Linked DNA regions of Homo sapiens: all the other regions are linked to region 1. Evidence: promoter capture Hi-C in 16 types of primary human blood cells and fetal thymus (Javierre and others, 2016). All regions are on one chromosome and are shown on one strand. Each heading gives the region's core, a stretch centred on a gene start or on the middle of the fragment in contact. The rest is flanking DNA. Distances are from core to core; before and after follow the strand shown. Region 1 holds the start of TSPAN13 (tetraspanin 13). Region 2 has its middle 49 kb from the start of AGR3. Region 3 has its middle 10 kb from the start of AGR3.

Evidence for each region. The method cuts DNA at HindIII sites, captures the fragments that hold promoters and counts their contacts. A CHiCAGO score of 5 or more calls a contact.
Region 2: a fragment that was not itself captured here is called in contact with the fragment with the promoter of TSPAN13 in region 1 in 1 of 17 cell types (total B cells); the score reaches 5.1 in total B cells.
Region 3: a contact is called between a fragment that was not itself captured here and the fragment with the promoter of TSPAN13 in region 1, in 1 of 17 cell types (naive B cells). The highest score is 6.7, in naive B cells.

The regions. Positions count from the first base shown.
Region 1 is chr7:16,751,592-16,755,930 of GRCh38, reverse strand. It overlaps TSPAN13 (tetraspanin 13), which reads right to left and starts at 2,176. Exons shown (of 6, transcript NM_014399.4): 1 at 1,901-2,176. The coding sequence starts at 1,963. The HindIII fragment of the contact is 13,671 bases long and covers 732-4,339 here.
Region 2 is chr7:16,928,724-16,933,062 of GRCh38, reverse strand. No RefSeq gene overlaps it. Among named protein-coding and RNA genes, the nearest start is that of AGR3, 49 kb to the right of the region's middle. RefSeq lists an enhancer at 3,610-3,659. The HindIII fragment of the contact is 1,598 bases long and covers 1,687-3,284 here.
Region 3 is chr7:16,890,251-16,894,589 of GRCh38, reverse strand. No RefSeq gene overlaps it. Among named protein-coding and RNA genes, the nearest start is that of AGR3, 10 kb to the right of the region's middle. RefSeq lists a silencer at 2,931-3,225. The HindIII fragment of the contact is 706 bases long and covers 1,976-2,681 here.

The DNA of each region.
Region 1 (4,339 bases), core at 927-3,426:
ATTAAAATCAATAGAACACACACTTTGAAGGTCAATAATTTAGAATAGATATTAAATAGTCTTAATATGTCCCTTTAGAATCACCTTTCTTTCGCCTCACTTTCCTGATATACTCTAAATACAACTAAAAATGATGTCTAGAAAGCAAGGAACTTCATTTTAAAATAACTTGCCTTTTTAAAAAAGATTATACATTGATATAGACCCTTCAGTGAAGTAAGTATGCAAAGTAGACATTCCACTCTGTGTAAGCAGGCACTGTAAGACTAAGTGTCTGGCAAACAGATGACTAAATCATTGGCAGAAAAAAAACAGAACTCAGGTCACAAAATAAGGAATTTAAAGTTCCAAGCAGGCCACTCACACTGATTTAAAAAAAAAAAAAAAAACCCTAGAGAACTGGTCAGCATTTACTTAATAAACAGCCAGGGTGATAAGCATACCTCAGGGTGATACAGATGAATTTTGATCTGAAACTTGACATGTATCTCCAAGGAACTGTATCACCAGGTGTTCTAAAATTTTTTTCCCAAGTCTACTATTAATGACCATGTTGACCAGATTCTTACTAACTAGCCATAAAAGCGTACTCAATGCCTGTTTCTGTCTTGCCTTCAAAGCTTGCAGTCATGTTCACATACAAAGGAACAGTAAAGGTAAAATGACCCAACCTCCTTCTCCTGTTGGTGACCACAAGGCAGCCTCTCTATTCCAAGGAGGTAATCTAAGCTTGCACAGATGGCCTAGCTCTCTGCTAATGCAGGGGTGCTGGGTTTGTTTTCAGGGTGGGTGCTGCAAAGCGCCAGGTATATTTATAGAAGGGAGCAAGACTACTATGGAGGGATGATGACAGAAGAGGAAGTTTCTTCCGCCCGGTAGAGACAGCCTGTGGAAAGATCTGGATTCCACAGCCTAGGTTCCACTCCTGACTCGTCAACTACCAGCTATGTAAACTTACTAAAACCTTTTTGGTCTGTTACCTTATGTATAAAATGCAGATAATGCCCCATTCCCTCAGAAGGTTGTCAGAATGATGAACGAGCATTGTGTATGTAAAACCTGGGACGTGATAGGCATTCAATAAATGTCGATCTGTCCTGCCCATCCTCCTGTTCACCCAGAATTGCGCCTCAAAAAATCACAAAGAGAGCCTGCAGCGTTAAAACTAAGAGGCCCAAGCTGGTTGGCAGGGAAAGAAACGACTTGGGTGGGGGCTCGCTTATTTCCTGGAGGACTTGGTTTAAAATGGAGTTAGGATATTGATCATGGACAAGACACACAGAAAAAGCACCAAGTACTAGCAAAACTGACAACAACAAAAACAAAAAGACATCCCTTTACTGTGAGCACGAAACAAACTTCGGAAGCAGCGGACATCCTGTGAACCTACTCAGTGGCCTCAATTAAAATCCCGAGGGTACCAAGAGCTAACCCAGAGGCACACCAGCCATATGCCGCCTCGTCAGTTTCAGGCCACGCCATTCCGCAAAACTGTCCGCAAGCCCTGACGGCTCTCGCGCCTCCACGCCTGGCCCAGATGCGTCTGGATGTCAGGAGCGAGCGGCAGAAGGGTACGGGGTGGGAAAGCGGAGAGGTCCGGTTGAATGTTTGAAAAACAAGGCGGTGGGTGAGGGGGCGGGGTGGAGCAATGTGGCAGAGACGCGGCCAGCGAGCCTGAGAGACCGCGGCTTCACAATGAACGAAAGGAAGAGACTGCGACAAGCGCCGGCGCCCGGTCCCCGGCGGGGACGGATGGTGAGGCCGGGGGCGCGCAGACGTGGGAAGCCGGGAAGGGGGCGCGGGATGCAACGAGTGAGTCGCTGACCAGGCAGGGAAGCCAAAGAGCTCCCAAGCAGGTGCAAAGCCCCCAAGCGAGCAGGAACGGACTGGGGATACTCACGGTGTAAAGCAGGTTGAGGGCGCACAGGCAGTTCTTGGAACACGCGAAGCCCCCGCAAACCATCTTGGAACCTGTGGTTGCCGGCAGCTGCACGTAAATTCGACTCCGGCGGAGGTTCCCTGACAGCTGCTTTGTCCTTGCCTTTGGGGCCTGGCCCAGGCGGGGCAGCAACGCAGACGTGGGTGGGGGGCCGGGGCCTGGGGCTGCAGTGCGCGGCGCGCGCGCGGCGGCGGCTCGGACCCGCTTTGGAACCTGCGGCCGCCGCAGCTGAGCCGGAGCAGGAGCCCGAGCCCCGCCCAGCCCCTTCGTCTCGCCCCGCGCGCTGATTGGCCGCTGGCAGGGAACAAAGGTAGAAATATGCAAATAAATGCGCTCCGCCGACCGGGATCCGGGAGGGGCGGAGCGGTCCCGGGGCGAGGGGGAGAGGGCCAAGGCCGTGTGGGAGGGAGCCCCAGGCCAGAGCGGCGGCCTTGGTGTAGTTTCCCCAGGAGCAGGTGAGGAGGGAGGGCGGGGCTCGGAGGAGATCCACGCTGGCAAGGAGAAATATGACAGCACCTCTGGATTCTTGGCCCTGGCAGATGACGTGGCACCATTTTGAATGAGATTTCAAAACTAAGCACCTGGCCTTGTTTGAGGGAAGGAAGGCAGGAAGCAAGTAATGAATGAAAACATGTGAAAGATTTAAAAGAGAACGAAGTAGAGGCAAATGAAAGGGAGAAAATAAGTGAAACAATAAAAAATAAAATAAAATCCCTGCTTCTCTCAGAAAATAAGATATGTGCCCTATAATTGTGACCTGGACAGGTCAGACTTATCCTACAAAGATTTGCAAAATACTAATAAACTTTATGAATACATGCATGCAAAGGAAAATCAAGAGCGGGAGAAGGTGGGGATGGTTAATAGGTCCAAAAAAATAGAAAGAATGAATAAGACCTACTATTTGATAGCACAATAAAGTGACAATCGTTAATAAGAACTTAATTGTGTATTTTAAAATAACTTAAAGAATGTAATTGGATTGTTTGTAACTCAAAGGATAAATGTTTCAGAGGATGGATACCCTATTCTCCGTGATGTGCTTATTTCACATTGCATGCCTGTATCAAAACATCTCATGTACCCCGTAAATATATACATCTGCTACGTGTCAACAAAAGTTTTTTAAAAAATTTTAAAAAGAAAATCAAGAGAGATTATTTTTGTGTTCTGGTCGTGAATTTCAATAAACTTATTTTTTCACAAAAATAACTGAAAATCTTCAAATAACTCAGACTTCACCTCAATTAATTCATTATCAGTTTACTGCTTCTCTACTATAGAAATGCATCTTGTATCCTTAATTCCTCACCTATAAATTGAGATTTTAGAAGTATGTCAAGCACTTTTTGCATAGTGGCTGGCACAGGGGAAGGCCTCAATAAATGTCAGCTAGTATTCATAGATCTGACATTTTGTAAAGGCCTACTGTGTTCCAGGCACTAAGCGAAGGCAATAAAGGTTTATTTACTTCATAGTAGTTTCTACCAAAGAAAAAGGTTTTATAAAGAGATTTGCAAGTTTACAATACTATATCTAACCTAAAGGTTCATACGGAGTAAATTATGTAATTGCAAATGCTAAATTGTATTAAATTAAATTAAACATTGCAGCTGATTAAAATAATTCGTCTTCTTAGAATTCTCTGCTCCCTCTTCCAGCCTCTCCTTCCCTCCCCTGACCCCACCATACCAACAAGACCTCATTAATTTGTTAGGCTTTCTATTCCACATTAACCTTTTATATACAGCTAGAAATATTTCAAAAACTAACCTGGAAAATGATCCTCAAACACAAACAATGCTTTGATGATGCTCAACTTTCCTTTTTAATAGCCAGAGGTTTACAAAAGATGAGGCATTGGCAGGGAAATCTATTCATTCTCTTCCCATTCCTGGGTGTCACCAACATTAGTACCACTTCAACTATCACTCAACCAACTATTGCAACTCTCTCTTTGGCTTCTGCATAATATCTTCACTATCTCCCTATAGGCTGAATCACTTTGTTTTCCCAGAGAAGTACCACCTATCAGTCAGGGTCCCAGCAAAAAGGAGATGACTCGTTCAAATAGCATAACTGAGAAGAATTTCAAAAAGGGACTATTTTCAAAAGTGTGGACAAAGTTAAAGGAAACCGGCTGGGTGCGGTGGCTCACACCTGTAATCCCAGCACTTTGGGAGGCCGAGGGTAGTGGATCACCTGAGGTCAGGAGTTTGAGACCAGACTGACCAACATGGTGAAACCCCGTCTCTACTAAAACTACAAAAATTAGCCAGGCGTGGTAGCGGGCACCTGTAATCCCAGCTACTTGGGAGGCTGAGGCAGGAGAATCACTTGAACCCAGGAGGTGGAGGTTGCAGTGAGCCAAGATCGCGCCACTGCTCTCCAGCCTGGGTG
Region 2 (4,339 bases), core at 1,236-3,735, 180 kb before region 1:
AAATAAAATAAAATAAAATAATTAATTAGCTGGGTGTGGTGGCATGCACTTGTGGACCCAGCCACTTGGGAGGCTGAGGTGGGAAGATCACTTGAGCCCGGGAGATTAAGGCTGCAATGAGCCATGATTGCACTACTACATTCCAGCCTGGAAGACACAGGGAAAAAAAAAAAAAAAGAAAAGATGTTCATTCAGCTCAGCCTGAAAATATCCTCTCACTAGTAAGAGTGAAGCAGCTGCAAAGAATACCAGGAGAAATGCAAAGTTCTCTCTAAAAGCAAACAGGCCTAAACCACTCAAAGCACTCTGCACTGAATGGTACTATTTAAATAAAAAATAAATTATATTCTTCATATTGTTTCAAGCATTTATAATCATAACCAACTTATAAACCCAGAAATGTTGATCATTTCTAATGTTGAAAAGTAAACTCAACTAAAGAAGTAAACTAATTCATTTGCTATCTCAACCTATGCCTAAAAATGTTAATACTACTATTTAAATCTTAAGTATACATAATACAGTTAAATTTTGAAAATATTTTAATTTTATGTAAAAAATGTTTGCTTCTTTCATATTACTGACTAGTTCTTTAAAAAAAAATTCTAAATCTTGTGCAAGATACATATCAAGGATCTGGAAAATGTTGTCACAATCAGAAAACTGAGATTCCTATAAGAATCCAAGGGGTTTTTTTGAAGAATAAAAATAAACACCAAAAACTTTTCTTCTCCTTCTTCATGCATTGACTTCCAAGAGGAATCAATTTTGTCTTTCTTAGTAGTTACAGGGTTTAATGATGTTTCTTTCTAGTAAGAGTAAAATAAGTTACGTCAGTTAGATCAAGATTTTTAGGAAAAAATAAAGGATGGGATTCAGAAATAAAATACTCAAATGAGGAAAGGAGAAGGAAAGGCACCTTTAGGACTACAACAGTGGGCTTGGAATGAAGGTAAAAGAGAAGGTAAAAGGTAGAAAAAAACCGGAAAGAGGTTTCTATGCCATATCAGCTATGTCTGACAGTGAGAATCAAATAGGAACATCATGCTGGGAAAGAATATTCGGAAGAGAGGATATAGTTCAGGTGAAAGATCTTGACTAGCCTGAAGAATCAAAATGCCATAAGCAACAAATATAGTAAAGGCATTAATTCTTCAAAGTATTTAAAGAGCAAGTTAAGAAAGTAATACTACAGGCATAACTTGTTTTATTGCACTTTGCTTTATTGTGCTCTGAAGCTACTGTGTTTTCTTACAAATTGAAGATACGTGGCAACTCTACATGAGCAAGGATATCAGTGCCATTTTTCCAACAGCAGGTGTTCACTTTGTGTCCCTGTGTTACATTTTGGTAACTCTCAAAATATTTCAAACTTTTATTATTGTTATTATTAACTGTGATGGTGACCTGTGATCAATACTTCATATTACTATTGTAATTGTTTTAGGGCACCACAAACTACACCCATATAAGACAGCAAACTTAACAAATATTGCTTGTGTTCTGACTGTTCTACTGAACCGCCACTTCCCTGTCTTTCTGCCCTCTTTGGCCCTCCCTATTCCCCAAGCCACCACAACATTGAAATTAGGCCAATTAATAACCCTACAATGACCTCTGAGTATTCAAATGAAGGAAGAGTCCCACATCTCTCACTTTAAACCAAAAGTTACAAATCATTAAGCTTAGTGAGGAAGGCATATCAAAAACCAAGATAGGCCGAAAGGTAGGCCTTTTGCATCATTAGCCAGGTTGTGAATGCAAAGGAAAAGTTCTTCAAAGAGATTAAAAGTGCTACTTCAGTGAATCTACAAATGATAAGAAAGTGAAACAGCCTTATTGCTGATATGCAGAAAGTTTGAGTGGTGTGGATAGAAGATCAAACCAGCCACAATATTCTCTTAAGCCAAAGCCTAATCTAGAGCAAGGCCCTAACACTCTTCAATTCCGTGAAGGCGAAGAGATGAGGCAGCTGCAGAAGCAAAGTTTGAAGCTAGCAGATGTTGGTTCATGAGATTTTAAGGAGAGGAAGCCATTTCCACAACATAAAAAAGCAAGGTGAAACAGCAAGTGCTGATGGAGAAGCTGCAGCGAGTTATGTATATCTAGATAGGTTAATTGATGAAGGTGGCTACACTAAACAACAGTTTTTCAGTGCAGACAAAACAGCCATATATTGGAAAAAGATGTCATCTAGGACTTTCATAGCTAGAGAGAAGTCAATGCCTGGCTTCAAACCCTCAAAGGACAGGCCAACTCTCTTATTAGGAGGGAAAGCAGCTGATGACTTGAAGTCAATGCTCATCTGTGCTGCTGAAAATCCTAGAGTCCTTGGGAATTATACCGAATCTACTCGGCCTGTGCCCGACAAATGGAAAAATAAAGCCTGGATGACAACACATCTGTTTACAACATGGTTTACTGAATATTTCAAATCCACTGTTGAGAGCTACCACTCAGAAAAAGATGATTCTTTTCAAAATATTACTGCTTGTTGACAATGCACCTGATTATCCAGGAGCTCTAATGGAGATACACGAGGAGGTTAATGTTGTTTTCATGCCTGCAAACACAACATCCTATCTGTAGCCCATACGTCAGAGAATCATTTGATTTTCAAGTTTTATTTAAGAAATACATTTTGTAAGCCTGTAGCTCGATAGATAGTGAGTTCTCTGAGGATCTGGGCAAAGTAAATTGAACACCTTCTGGAAAGGATTCAGCATGCTAGATGGCTTTGTAAAACAAAGTGTCTGAGATAGGTCTCAATTAATTTAGAAGTTTATTTTGCTAAGGTTGAGGACATACCTGGGAGAAGACACAAAATCACAATAGGATCTGTGGTTCACACTTTTTATAAAGAGGATTTTGAGGGTTTCAATATTTAAAGGGGAAAGAGCAGGCAGAAGGGGAAGGAAGAAAGAAAAAAAAAGGGAGGGTATAAAGTGAGGTAAGCGGTCACATTGTTGTGAGGCTTTGATAAGTGTTTACCGAATCCACATGTTACATGTGAAAGGAGGAGGGAGAGGAGCAGTCAATTAAACATTTGTCTTATGCATCAGTAAGTCGGCATTTTACACAACATAAAAATAAACAGTAAAGGAAGCCAAGCTGTCAAATATGTCTTTGTCCTATACCTGTCTTTGTTCCATACCTGTGAAGATAAGCTGTTAATTTACCTTGTCAGGCTGAGGAAGGCCACCTGGGAAGATATGTGATCTTCTATCTTGCAGGTTCAGGAACAAAAGGAAAGGCAGTTTTTTTGGAGACTCAGTTTCTAAGCTTAACTTTTCCTTTTGGCATAGTGAGTATGGCATCCCAATATTTTATTTTATTTTCACACCTTTAAGAATATTCATGATTCATGGGAGAAGGTCAAAATATCAGCATTAACAAGAGTGTGAAAGAAGTTGATTCTAACTTTGATGGATGACCTTTGAGGGGTTCAAGACTTCAGTGGAGGAAGTCATAGTATACTACAATATAGTGTATACAATATGCACTGGGAAGCCAAAACATTCATGTGACTGACTTTTTATATTTCCTTATTGCACTGGTCTGGACCTGAAGCTTCAGTATCTCCAAGGTATGCCCATACATCATTTATAAAAGAAGTTCTGGAACTTGTAGAGTCAGACAACAAAATACAAACACTAGACGTTGGCAACCCTGTTCAAGAATGGCAAACTGTGGTCAATAGAACCAGTGAACTGCTTCCTTTTCTGAACTATTTAGCACCTACTTCCTCTTTTGACTCTTCAGCTCCTTCAGTGTTCCACTTAACATGTTTAACTCTCTTTTTGTGGGTATCTGAATGCCCACCAATAGATCTGAAGGTTCTAGGGGGCAAAGAAAGTGTCTTCTTATTCTTCCATCAGTCTTTGCAGAGTAAAAGGAAATGGTATCTGTTTGGTGCTAGCGGTATCCCTTAAAATGTTGATAGAGAAAAGTATATTTTACTTGCCAAGATATCTTTAAGATGAAAAGGAAAATGTTTGATGTTCAACAGATGTCTAGTGACTGAACTTATTACTTATATCAAATCAATTTGAGAGATTTGAAAAACTAAGGGGAAAAAAAATAAAGATGGAGGTATGGACATTGTACCAAGTCCTTGGTAAACATAATCTGATTGGATCATGATAGAAGTACCATATGCATGGTGTCATCTCTCATTCGAAGTACGTAAGACAGAAAGGGAATGCCTTTATATGTATACGAATTGGACTGCAAGGATAAGCAACAAAATAAAATTTAAGTAACAGGATTTCAAAAATTGATGTAGTCCTTTATAAAATTGATTTAACCACAAAATACCATAATTACCATCAATACAGAG
Region 3 (4,339 bases), core at 1,079-3,578, 140 kb before region 1:
ATAGTGGAATAACACTCGGCAATAACAAGGAATGAACTACCAATACAAGACATAACATGGATGAATCTCAAAAATGTGGTTAGCATAAGAAGCTAAACACGAAAGACCGCATTCTATATAATTTTATTTAGAAAAGACAAAATTAATCTATACAGACAGAAAGAATAGTGGTTGTCTAGGGTTTAGGGTGGGCCATTGACTACAAAGTGGCACAAGGAAATTTTGGAAACTGATGAAAATATTCTGTATCTTAATTGTGCTAGAAGTTACATAAGACTTTCTTCAAAAGTCTTAGAAATGTAATTTTAAATGAATGCATTTTATTCAAATTAAATATCATTAAAGATGTAAAAGTATATATGTGTAAGTGTGTGTGTATATATATATATATTTGTATATTTTTCTAGATTCAAATCATGCCACCTTCAGTAACATCATAGTTAAGTCAGTCACCTGTTGTTGACACTCATTCTGGCTCCTCATGTTTTCTGCCCCATACAGACAAAAGTCATTGCTATATAAAAATAGCTACTGGTCATTTTGCCCTGTGGTCTCTCAGATATACCAAGGTGACTTTGAGCACCTTCTTTCTGCCGAGCCTCCTTTCCCATGTGCACTCAGTCATCATTTGCCTACCATTAACAGGGAATACTAATGAAGTGGAAAGGGGCAGGATATATGGATAGTATGCAGCTCTAGATTTAAGTATTGTAGTCCCTCCTTCTCATTTGCATCCCATCCAAGTTACATTACTCTTTGTCCTTTGCTTCTCACTGTGTTCTGACTCAATAAGCCACATAGTTTGAGGTCTTAATTTGGTCTATGAGACCTTGGATCCTGACTTCTGAAACAGTAGCATTGTTAGAAGCTATCATGGCATCATGGTAATTTCTCATCTTGACAAGACTACAATCTAACTATACACTGTGAAATTCAAAGATGTACAATGGAATCAACCTTAAGAATTGGAATTTTTAAGACATTTGAACAAAAAAAAATACATGTAACAATGAAATAGAGAGAAAACCCCTAAGTAAAAGTGGCCAAACAATGAGAAATAGTGGAATTAAAAGAAAGTAATTTCACATAATAGTAGAAAAATACAGTTCATCGTGACATCAATATGTCTCTGGTATTGGTGAGACAAGGTCCCCAATCATGATGATAATCAGTGATTGTTACAGTTATAGTGCCAAATATTAATAACATGTTCATATTTTTAAATTGTATGCTCCATTCACACTTTTGTCAGTGAACACTTGGCATAATTAAAACAGCGTGGCACAGACACATTGAGATATACATAGGTAGTAGTCCTCTTTCTTTCCATTATAAAAACAGCAGTTTTAATGCATGCAAAGATTAATATAACCCAGATAATTTAGCTGTAAGTTTCGTTCTGAATCACCAAGAAAATGGTACAAGTATTCAGAAGAACAGCTTAAATAATTACAGTAAATTCAAAACATTACCAAAATCACTGGTCTGAAATCAGTCATAGGTCCGTTTCTTCTCAATGAGAATAATCTACAGAAAACAAAAATATCAATCAAGTATCAAATAAGAATTAGGTAACTACTATGGGCTCAGTAATCTAAGCACTGCATACGATGTGAAAACACCTTGAACATGAAAACTGCCTGCTCTTAGGCCCTTGAAATCCAGTCTTTCTTCTTCAACAAATCTACATGAAACAGTTTACATATATTGCAAACTGGTGCATTAATTCTCATGTAGAGCAAAGGAAAAAAATCAGGACACTTTAAAACAAACTTTGTCACCAATACTGAGAACCCCACTCCTATCCCCAGTATCAGTCTACTAATTCCTGGGATCACCAAGGTAATGTAGTTATGTTAGACACGAGTCTGCCTTTCTGAATCTTCTGAGCTGTATCTGCCTCTTGATGCCCATCAGAATCAAGGCCTTCATCACAGCTTGAAAAAAGAAGATGTAGACATGTAAAGACCAAGCTTCTCTCTGCATATTTCATAAAATTTCCCTCCATGTGGGACCTTCCCATCACTAAAGCAATGTAAAAATTAGCAGCCCAGACCATTATCAAGAGGGTAATGAGAATGAACTTTGATACTTGTACTTGGAACCTAAACCAGAGATCTTGTGGGCTCTTGATAAGCCAAGTTATATATACACAGGCTGATATTCAACCAATAGATACTGGTACAGTCATCCCAGTTATTAATATGTCAAAGTACTTCCCTCAGGAGTTGATAAATAGGTACTGCAGCAGTTGTTCCCCATCAGGTCCTCCCTACACCCATATGGAGCACCCTTATTTTCCCCTGGAAGCCCTAGCCATCGCTAGATTTAATTCATTGGTACCTATGCTGCATCAATTGTTAGATATTCTGAATCTATTCCAATAGTGTGTGCCAGTTCACACACATAAAAAGATATATTTAATATAATATCCCTTGGGAGGATGGACTTTTCAGTTCACCCAGTTGCCTAGCAATAAATGGAAACATTAGTTGGGTCCCCTGCCCTCCAGCTGTTTGTAGATATTTTGCTTAAGTAAACAAATGTGACTGTACCTGGTAATTCTACTCTTAACACACAAATACCAGTAACCTGGGGTTCTTCACATCTTTAAGCAAAGAAACTTTGGAAACACCTGATAAAGTTTATAATTGAAGAATATTTGAAAGACAACTTAAGCTTTAAGCATTAAGCTCATTAGAAGAACTAGACTTAGTGATCTGGTCCAGTAAAATTCTCGTTTAGAACCTATTAGGAATATTCTGCACTGAAAATCCTTGGGGGCCTCTATCAGTTCTATTATCTATTAGGGGAAGAAATACCAAGATGTGCAAAGTGGTTAGGAGTTGTTCCTAGTCAATGTCTTAGGAAAATGAATGCAGCTGTCATACATATATTAAAATTCTCCTTTTTCCCCATGGCAAGGTGGATAGGCAAATCATATCACAAGTTCTTATCCAGGAACTTTGCACCACAATCTAAACATGTCTCTTTCCTCTACCATGTTCAAGTTTCACTTCACTGCTAGGTTGCCCGCTCTGCTTTCCTTTGATTGTAGTGACATCTAATGTCAGAGTCAGAGAGTAGCTCAGCTCAGCTCCTGTTCAGTTTCCAAATTGACTCTTCAGGTTGTAAACCCACCTCCTCGGCAGACAGACAGCTCACTAGGATAATTTGTTGGGCCAAGTAAAACATGAACAAAACTGAATTAAACTTGTTTAAATTGAAATGCAATTAGTACTTGAATCATGAATTTTCAAAACTGGCTCCTTCTCCTCTTGAGAGAAGTCTACCCTCTAAAAAATCATGTTTTGGGAAAATACCTAATACATCAGTCCATCTTATTGCTAAGAGAGTTTTCTCACTAGTTCCTGGGCTTAGTGGGCTCACTTGAATAATAGTTATATAATAAATAAGAGAAGCTAATATTTATTGGGAACTCATCAACTATCATTTTTTAAATACTCATTTATTTTCTCTTCCAAAAAAGGGAGCAACTTGACCTTTGTATTTGCTGTCTTATCTTCATTAACTACCAAAGAGCCTGCTCTAGGGTAGGCCCACATGTTTGGGAAGGTACTGCCTGCTTTCTGTCACTTTTCATGTTCTCTCACATTTCATCATTACAACACTTCTGTGCGATAAATATTATCAACATTTCTATTTGCATTAGTAATTTCTCTGTGGTCATGGTGGCTACTGAGCAGGATTGGAACCCAGACATCCTAGCCCCAGAATAGAAGGACCACTGGAGGCTGGATGCTCAGGGCAAATGGCCCCATGATCACTTCTCCTCGCATAACTAACAAGTCATGACAATTGTTAAGGCAATGACAACAATGTTAGAGGAAGTATCACAAAAGGTGGGATTGAAATCAGTGGTCACACTGTGAAGTAAGGTGTGAAAAGAAAATTCTCTTTTCGTGTTCATGCTTGACTAGAGAATCAATTCCTTGTCATGATCCCCTATGGGCCCACTCCTCCAGATGCCAGAACCTGTCTACTCTCCTTCTCTAGGACTCCCACTCTTAACTACTATGCATACTGACTTCCATAGTGGAAAGAACACAAAATTTGGGTTCAAATGATCTAAGTTTAAGACCAGGCTCTGCTACTTACTGTGAGTTTGGACAACTCACTCAACCTATGTTAGGTTCAATTTAAAGTGGAGTAAATGGTAGCATTCTATACAAGATGCCAAACTCAGCCCACATTCTTCTATTTTGAATATAGTAAGGAGACAATTATACCCACTTGGAAATGACAGATAGATGTACTTAGTCAAACTGAAAATTCAAGAAATCTCTCTAAGACAGCACAGACAGATGTGAGGACTGAC